Linked DNA regions of Homo sapiens: region 2 is linked to region 1. Evidence: promoter capture Hi-C in 16 types of primary human blood cells and fetal thymus (Javierre and others, 2016). All regions are on one chromosome and are shown on one strand. Each heading gives the region's core, a stretch centred on a gene start or on the middle of the fragment in contact. The rest is flanking DNA. Distances are from core to core; before and after follow the strand shown. Region 1 holds the start of AXL (AXL receptor tyrosine kinase). Region 2 has its middle 41 kb from the start of LTBP4.

What was found. The method cuts DNA at HindIII sites, captures the fragments that hold promoters and counts their contacts. A CHiCAGO score of 5 or more calls a contact.
Region 2: a contact is called between a fragment that was not itself captured here and the fragment with the promoter of AXL in region 1, in 3 of 17 cell types (naive CD8 T cells, M2 macrophages and erythroblasts). The highest score is 7.1, in naive CD8 T cells.

Annotation. Positions count from the first base shown.
Region 1 is chr19:41,217,168-41,221,556 of GRCh38, forward strand. AXL (AXL receptor tyrosine kinase) reads left to right here and starts at 2,056. Exons shown (of 20, transcript NM_021913.5): 1 at 2,056-2,310; 2 at 3,469-3,691; 3 at 3,979-4,079. The coding sequence starts at 2,226. RefSeq lists enhancers at 1,197-2,021, 4,272-4,389 and a silencer at 1,630-1,769. The HindIII fragment of the contact is 40,135 bases long and covers 1-4,389 here.
Region 2 is chr19:40,639,677-40,644,065 of GRCh38, forward strand. No RefSeq gene overlaps it. Among named protein-coding and RNA genes, the nearest start is that of LTBP4, 41 kb to the left of the region's middle. The HindIII fragment of the contact is 6,260 bases long and covers 1-4,389 here.

The sequences.
Region 1 (4,389 bases), core at 806-3,305:
CTGAGGGGGCTCTTTGGGTGAGAAAGCGAGAGAAGCCTGGGGAGGCGAGGGGAGGGTCACAGAAACATAAGGAGTTTAGGGTTCTGCTGAAAGGTTTGGGGCAGAGGTGGGAAAGGGTTTGGTTTGAGATTGGGAAGAAGCCTTCTGACTGTTGAGTGGGAGACAGGTTGGAAGGAGCAACAGAAGCCAGCAGCCCATGGCCGGGCACAGTGACCCACGCCTGTAATCCCAGCCCTTTGGGAGGCCGAGGCGGGCAGATCACGAGTTCAGGAGTTCCAGACCAGCCTGGCCAACATGGTGAAACCCCGTCTCTACCAAAAATACAAAAATTAACCTGGCATGGTGGTGCACACCTGTAATCCCAGCAACTCAGGAAGCTGAGGTGGGAGGATCACTTGAACCCAGGAGATGGAGGTTGCAGTGAGCCGAGATCGAGCCATTGCACTCCAGCCTGGGCAACAAAGCAAGACTGGGTCTCAAAAAAAAAAAAAAAAAAAAAGACACAGCCCAGGGAGACAACGGTGAAGGGCCCTAAGTGGCCAGTGACAAGGAGCTGGGAGCTTGCCCTGAGGGCAGCAGGAGGCCATGGGCAAGCAGAGAAGGGACAGGGTAGGATTTGACTTTCAGAAACAGTCCTCTGGTTGCTAAATGGGAGAAAGGAGTGACAGTAGAGGCAGGAGAAGGCAGGATCAGACGGGGGTGCTGGGAAGGGGCAGGTAGAAGAGACATCAGGAGGCCAAACAGATAGGACTTTATGATGCACCGTAGGTATACCAGTACCCAAACACAGGTGGCCAAGAGCAGAGGGATAGACGCCCAGCCTCCTCCTCACAGACATCCAGGCATGCAGAGCCCTCCACGTGCCAAACACACAGGGCCGAGGAATGGAAGTGCAGCAGAGCCGATACGCAGGCAGCAGATCTGCAATAACCAGGACACACAGTCCCACCAGAAGGAGAGAGCAGTGGAATGATCAGGGCTCACTGCAGCCTCGATCTCTTGGACTCAAGCGTTCCTCTCACTCCAGCCTCCCTAGTAGCTGGGACCACAGGCACACGCCATGATACCTGGTTAAGTTTTAATTTTTAAACTTCTTGTAGAGATGGGGGTCTCAGTGCATTGACCAGTCTGGTCTCGAACTCCTGGGCTCAAGCGATCCTCCCACCTTGGCCTCCCAAAGTGCTGGGATTACAGGAGTGAGTTACTGTGCCCGGCCAACAACTATTCTTATTCCCATTTTACAGATGGACAAACTGAGGCTCAGGAGGCCAGTCACTTGCCTGTAGCCCACAGTTAGTGGTAGCACTGGGATTCCAACTTGGGTCCCCTTCATGTCGCCTGTATTTGGTGTCCCATTTAGGCGTCCATGCAGGTTTTGGCGTGTCTGAAGATCTGTGTCTCCCCAAGTAAGTGTCCCCCATGGATGCCCACCCAGCCGTGTCCTCCTGTCTCTGAGGTTTCTCCAGGAATCGAGCTCCTGGCCTGGCTTGTCTGAGTGTGTCTGTGGGCCAGTAGCATGCCCCTGCCCGTCTGGGTCCCTCTGCGTGTCTCTGCTTGTCCTAGCCTGTGTGTGTCAGTGACGTCTAAGAGTGTGTGTGCGTGCGTGCGTGCGTGCGTGTGTGTGTGTGTGTGTGTGTCCTTGTCCGAGGAGCCGAGAGAGTGAGGGGGAATGAAGGGCCAAGGAGGCCTGGCTGGGGCTGGGCTGGGGGTGGAGGCGGGGAGAGGGGCGTCACGGCCTGAGCTGAGAGGGGAGTGGAGTTCTGGAGGAATGTTTACCAGACACAGAGCCCAGAGGGACAGCGCCCAGAGCCCGGATAGAGAGACACGGCCTCACTGGCTCAGGACAGGGGGCACAGCCACCAGGGTCCCCTTCCCCCTCCTCAGCTCCCTCCCTGGCCCCTTTAAGAAAGAGCTGATCCTCTCCTCTCTTGAGTTAACCCCTGATTGTCCAGGTGGCCCCTGGGCTCTGGCCCTGGTGGGCGGAGGCAAAGGGGGAGCCAGGGGCGGAGAAAGGGTTGCCCAAGTCTGGGAGTGAGGGAAGGAGGCAGGGGTGCTGAGAAGGCGGCTGCTGGGCAGAGCCGGTGGCAAGGGCCTCCCCTGCCGCTGTGCCAGGCAGGCAGTGCCAAATCCGGGGAGCCTGGAGCTGGGGGGAGGGCCGGGGACAGCCCGGCCCTGCCCCCTCCCCCGCTGGGAGCCCAACAACTTCTGAGGAAAGTTTGGCACCCATGGCGTGGCGGTGCCCCAGGATGGGCAGGGTCCCGCTGGCCTGGTGCTTGGCGCTGTGCGGCTGGGCGTGCATGGCCCCCAGGGGTGAGTGATGGGGGCTCCTTGGGGCAGGGATCCCCTCGGAGGGGCTGGGGCAGGGGTAGGAGGTGGGGGATGATGGCAGGTGTGGGGGGCCTGGGCTGGCTTAGGGAGTTTCCTTGGGACCACAGAAAAGGGACTTCAAGGGAGGGAGACACAGACTCAGAGACACCAAGTGCGGCAGAGGGAGAGAAAGACTGAGAGAGGAACTGAAGGGCAGGGGGGACAGAAGAGAGGACCCGGAGAGACAGACAGACAAGGAGAAGCTGAGGGCAGGGGTGGGGGCTGGACCTGAGAAGGGGGCCATGGGGAGAGGGGCTGAGCTGAGGGTCGCCAGGAAGGAAGAAATCTTTCCGAAGGGGCACCGAGTCAGGCAGTGGGATGAGGAGGGCTCTGGAGCCCTGGGGGAAAACGCTTCTCCCTGCCAACACCACCCCCCTGACCCGCCACTTGTCCCTACCCCACCAGTCCACTCCATCTCTGGGGAGGAGGCTCTCACTTTGTCTCTCTGTCTCTGCCTCCAGCTCTGCTATCTCTGTGGGTCTCTGTTTCTCTCTCTTTCACAGTCTCTGCCTTTATCTCTCCCTGCTCTCTGAGTCTCTCTCTCTCTTCTCAGCCTCCCTCTGTGACTGTATCCCCCCTCCGCCCCCACCTTTTCTTCTCTCTTGAGGGCTGTTTCTTCATTTTTTCTGTCTTGCCTTGTATCTGTGCTCCTCTCTGTCTCATCTCCCCTGCCTTTCTCTGGCTTCTCCCTCCGCCACCACCCTTATCTCCCCCCACCACCACCCTTATCTCTCTCCCCCAACCCCTGATTCTTCCCCTCCATCCACCAGCACCAGCGCGACCTGTTAAGTCTCTAGAGACCTAAGAGAGGACGGAGGGGGCAGGGGCTGGCCCTGCCAGGCAGTGCAGGGCGTGGGAGGCTGCCAGATCCCGAGCCTCCTTCCCGACGGGATGGACGCTAGATCCCAGTCCCTTGGGAGGGCTCCCGTCCTCCTCTCAGAGCCTCCGCCCTCCACCCCACTCTGAGGTCACTCTGCAACTATGTCGGCCTAAGGGCCTGGCGGGGTCCTGGCCGCCGGTGGGCAGGCAAGGACAGGGTGGAACTGAGGGCCGGAAGGAGCTGGGGGGTTCCTAAGCTAACTCTTCCCATCTCCCCTCCAGGCACGCAGGCTGAAGAAAGTCCCTTCGTGGGCAACCCAGGGAATATCACAGGTGCCCGGGGACTCACGGGCACCCTTCGGTGTCAGCTCCAGGTTCAGGGAGAGCCCCCCGAGGTACATTGGCTTCGGGATGGACAGATCCTGGAGCTCGCGGACAGCACCCAGACCCAGGTGCCCCTGGGTGAGGATGAACAGGATGACTGGATAGTGGTCAGCCAGCTCAGGTGTGTGGCCACATCCCCGAATCCCACTCCCACCTCCGTCACACAGAGGGCAGAAAGCCCACCTGGGTGGGAACCCCAGTTTGACCACTTGTCAGCCGTGCGGCTTTGAGCATGTGATGGAACCTCTAGGTTTCGTTTTCCTCTTCTGCAAAATGAGTTAATAATAGGACATACTTCGTGGTTGTCATGAGCTTCCAGACTGGACACCCTCTTTCCGTTCTGACAGACCCCCTCCCAGTGTCCAGCTCTGACCCTGAACCTCTCTGTCTCTCCTCTTGCCCTGTCAGAATCACCTCCCTGCAGCTTTCCGACACGGGACAGTACCAGTGTTTGGTGTTTCTGGGACATCAGACCTTCGTGTCCCAGCCTGGCTATGTTGGGCTGGAGGGTGAGCTCTGGGGTCAGGGGTCCTGAGGGGTCAGAGGACATGTGGCGCTCATAGGTTGTGGGAAGTCAGGAATCCTGAGGGGTCAAGGTCAAAGGGTGCTGGAGGATTCAGGATGAACCTAGCGTCATACAGCCTAAGAATGTCAGAGTTTTGGGTGGTCAAGAAGCTGGGAGTCCATATAAGTTATGGTGCCAAGGCTGGGGGATTATATGTTCTGGGTGAAAAGACTTCTTGGGGGTAGTTGGATGTCCTAGGCATCAGACACCATCAGGTCACAGGAGGCCATTCTGGTCTTCAGATAAGGCGTCAG
Region 2 (4,389 bases), core at 971-3,470, 580 kb before region 1:
GAGCCACTGTGTTCCGCCAATCTCATTCAAAGTAAGAGCCAAAGTCCTCACTGTGGTCCAGCAGACTCTGCACCGTCTGCTTCTTGTTCCCTCTCTGACCTCACCTCCCCTCCACCCCCCACACGCTCCTCTGCAGCAACACGGATCTCCTTGTTGTTTCTCTAAGATCCAGACATGTTCCCATCCCACCCCAGGACCTTGGCACTGGCTGTTCCCTCTGCCTAGGGGACTCTTTCCACTAGGTTCAGTTTCTCTTTTTTTTTTTTTTTGAGACGGAGTTTTTTCACTCTTGTTGCCCAGACTGGAGTGCAGTGGCACGATCTCGGCTCACAGCAAGCTCCTCCTCTCAGGTTCAGGCAATTCTCCTGCCTCAGCCTCCCGAGTAGCTGGGACTACAGGCACCCGCCACCACCCCCAGCTAATTTTTGTATTATTAGTAGAGACGGGGTTTCACCATGTGGCCAGGCTGGTCTCGAACTGCTGATCTCAAGTGATCCATCTACCTCAGTCTCCCAAAGTGCTGGGATTACAGGTGTGAGCCACCGCGCCTGGCCCCCTTGGCTCAGTCCCTCACCACCAGCAGAAGAATGGATAAACTGATCCCACAGTGGCCTGCAATGTGTGTGTGCTGCAATGAGAATAACCTGTAACTGCACACGACAACCAGGATGAATTTTTTTCACGGTGCTGACTGAAAAAAGCCAGATGCTAAAAAGAACATATTTTCAGATTGCATTTACATGAATTCAAAACAGGCACAACCAATCTATGCTGTCAGAAGTGAGGGTGATAATGACCTTGGAGGGAGGGCAGGTGATAAGGGAGCGCCGAGGGGGCTTCTGGGGGGCTGGAGATATTGCTTCTTGGGCTGGTGGCTGGTGACACAGGTGTGTTCAATCGGTGATAATTCCTCCAGCGGTTACACTTACGGTTTGTACTTTCCTGAATATGGGTCTACTTCAAGAAACCACTGCTGAAAACGAGGAGCTGCACCCACCACCCAGTGTCCCCTCCATCCAGTTTAAGCAACAGGACATTCTCAGCCCCCCGGGGTCCCTCCCTCCCAATGCAATGTGCTTTTATGTCTTCAAGGGGCCTGGCCACCACCTTGGTTGCTTCCCCCAGCTTGCTATGCATGTCACCCCACGCATGTTCCAGGCAGCTCCACAGAGGTCCCCAGAGAGAAGGCAGGCTGTGGGTGGGAGGAAGGGCAGGGGTGGGGGACGTGGCTTCCCAGCGGAGCCCGGGCAGGGGGAGGAAACATTTCTGCAACACCCCACACCAAGTCCTGACTTCGGGGGGGCTTTGCAGGGTGAATTCTAAGTGCCCAGGGCCCCATGTGAAGGGGTCAACTGTGTCTCACTCTGTGTCTGTCTCTCTGTCTGTCTCTCTTCCTGTTTCCTCCCTCCCTCCCAGTCTCTCTCTCCTCAAGAAGAAAAAAACTCACAACTATTTACATAACAATTTTATATCAGACTGTAACCCAAAAACCCAAGTTCCAACTTCGAATTTTTCAATAAACTTTGAATAAATAGTAGTGCTATTTTTCTTTCTTTTTTTTTTTAGTACTGTAATGTTTACTTTTAAATTTAATTTTTACTGGCAGACTTTACGTATATGAGGTTCAAGAAAAGAAAATCTCCACTGTTTACATTTCTTTTCTGACTATTAATATTGTTCATTTCATTTCCTGATTATTACTGGCAATAATTTTGTCCTATGGGGAAGGGAGGCGCTTGGCAGGCCTCGAGTTATCCTTTGAGACATGGGGGTCTGTGGTCAGATTTAGAAAGTGCTTGTGGGTGGCTGGGTGGGAGTGGGTCATGGGAGACATAAGGGCAGGCTGGAGTCCAGGGAGGAGGCCGGCCGGGCAGGGACCCAGGCAGCGGAGATGGACAGGGCCATGGAGAATCTGGGAGGCGCAGGCCCTGGGGACTGTGGATTGGGGAAGGAGATAATTTTATTTTATTATATTTTTTTGAGACAGAGTTTCAGTCTGTCTCCAAGACTGTAGTGCAATGGCACGATCTCTGCTCACTGCAACCTCTGCCTCCCGAGTTCAAGGGATTTTCCTGCCTCAGCCTCCCAAGTAGCTGGGATTACAGGCACGCACCCTCACACCCAGCTAATTTTTAATATTTTTGGTAGAGACGGGGTTTCACCATATTGGCCAGGCTGGTCTCATACTCCTGACCTCAAGCGATCCACCTGCCCCGGCCTCCCAAAGTGCTGGGATTACAGGCATGAGCCACGACGTCTGGCCTAATTTTTTGTATTTTTAGGAGAGACAGGGTTTTGCCATGTTGGCCAGGCTAGTCTTGAACTCCTGGCCTCAAGTGATCCGCACACCTCAACCTCCCAAAGTGCTGGGATTACAGGTGTGAGCCACTACGCCCCGCCAAGGGAAGGGGAGAATTTGAGTGCTATTGAAGGTAGAAAACACAGAACATAGGCTGGGTGTGGTGGCTCATATCTCTAATCCCAGCACTTTGGGAGGCCAAAGTGGGAGGCTGGCTTAATCCCAGGAGTTCGAGATCAGCCTGGGCAACATAGTGAGACCCCTGTCTCTACAAAAAATTAAAAATTAGCCAGGCATGGTGGCACCCACCTGTACTCCCAAGGCTACTTAGGAGGCTGAGGTGGGAGGATCGCTGGATCCCAGGAGATCTGAGGTGAGCCGTGATCATGCCACTGCACTCCAGCCTGGGCAGCAGAGTAAGACCCTGTCTCCAAAAATAAAAAATAATTTAAAATAAAGCGCGGAACACTGTCAGGTTGTCTGTGGGGGAGCAGCGGGCAGGCGACCAGGAGGGCTGGCTGCTCTGTGCAGGGCTAGTGCCTGGGTTGGGATGACTCGGCCTCAGAGCTGTAAATAAAGAAGGAAGAGGGCCGGGCGCGGTGGTTCACGCCTGTAATCCCAGCACTTTGGGAGGGCGAGGTGGACTAATCACCTGAGGTCGGGAGTTCGAGACAAGTCTGACCAACATAGAGAAATCCCATCTCTGCTAAAAATACAAAATTAGCCGGGTGTGGTGGCACATGCCTGTAATCCCAGCTACTCGGGAGGCTGAGGCAGGAGAATCGCTTGAACCCGGGAGGCAGAGATCACAGTAAGCCGAGATCACAACACTGCACTCTAGCCTGGGCAGCAAGAACAAAACTCCATCTCGAAAAAAAAAAAAAAAAAGTAGAAGAAAGAAAGAGCTGCCACAGTTGAGAGCTTCCTGGATGCCTTTGTTAACTCTTGGGGTTTTCACATACCCATCTTACAGATGGGGAAGCTGAGGCTCAGAGAGAGGAAGGCCCAAGTGGAAGAGCAAGCCTGGAGCCCAGGTCTCCTCCTGCCTAATCCTGGGCTTTTGCTGGTGGACTCCCGCCCAATCTTGAATAACTTCAGGCCTTAAACAACCTCCCACGATTGCTTTTCCTCCCATTAGAACAATAAATGCAGATACAAAAACCAACTATGCTTGTCTACAAAGCCCAAGAGAATTTTTGAAGTAATAAAACTGTCATGAATGCAGACTGTGGTGATTACATGACTTACGAATTTTTCAAAACTCAGAATCGAGCCAGATGAAATGATCCTGCCTGCAATCCCAGCACTTTGGGAGGCTATGGCAGGAGGATCATTTGAGGCCAGGAGTTCAAGACCAGCCTGGCCAACATGGTGAAACCCCGTCTCTACTAAAAATACAAAAATTAGCTGGGTGTGGAGGCACATGCCTGTAATCCCAGCTATTTCAGCAGCTAAGGCAAGAAAATTGTTTGAACCCGGAGGCTGAGGTTGCAGTGAGAAATGATCGTGCCACTGCACTGTAGACCCTGTCTCAAAAACCAAAACCAAAACCAAAAAAAGAAAAAAAAACCCTTAAGAATCAGGATTATACACGAGCACACGCACACTCACCCATAAATTTTACCATTTGTAGAAAAGAAGAAGAAAATTCAAAACCAAATACAATGAATGTACTTTCTCTGGATTCCAATTCACACCAAACAACTGTAAAAATCTGTTTTTGAGACAATTGGGGAACACAAACTGGCTTTTAGGAGATATTAAGGAATTTCGGTTAATTATGCTAGACTTGATAATGCCATTGTGGTTGGGTAATGCCCACATACCATGCCTTGGCTGGGCGTGGTGACTCACACCTGTAGTCCCAGCATTTTGGGAGGCCCAGATGGGAGGATTGCTTGAGCTCAAGAGTTCGAGACCAACCTAAGCAACATAGTGAGACCTCATCTCTACACAAAATTTTAAAAAACATTAGCCGAGTGTGGTGGGGTGCGCCTGTAATCTCAGCTACTCAGGAGGCTGAGGTGGGAGGAGTACTTAAACCCAGGAGTTTGAGGTTGCAGTGAGCTGAGATTGTGTCACTGCACTCC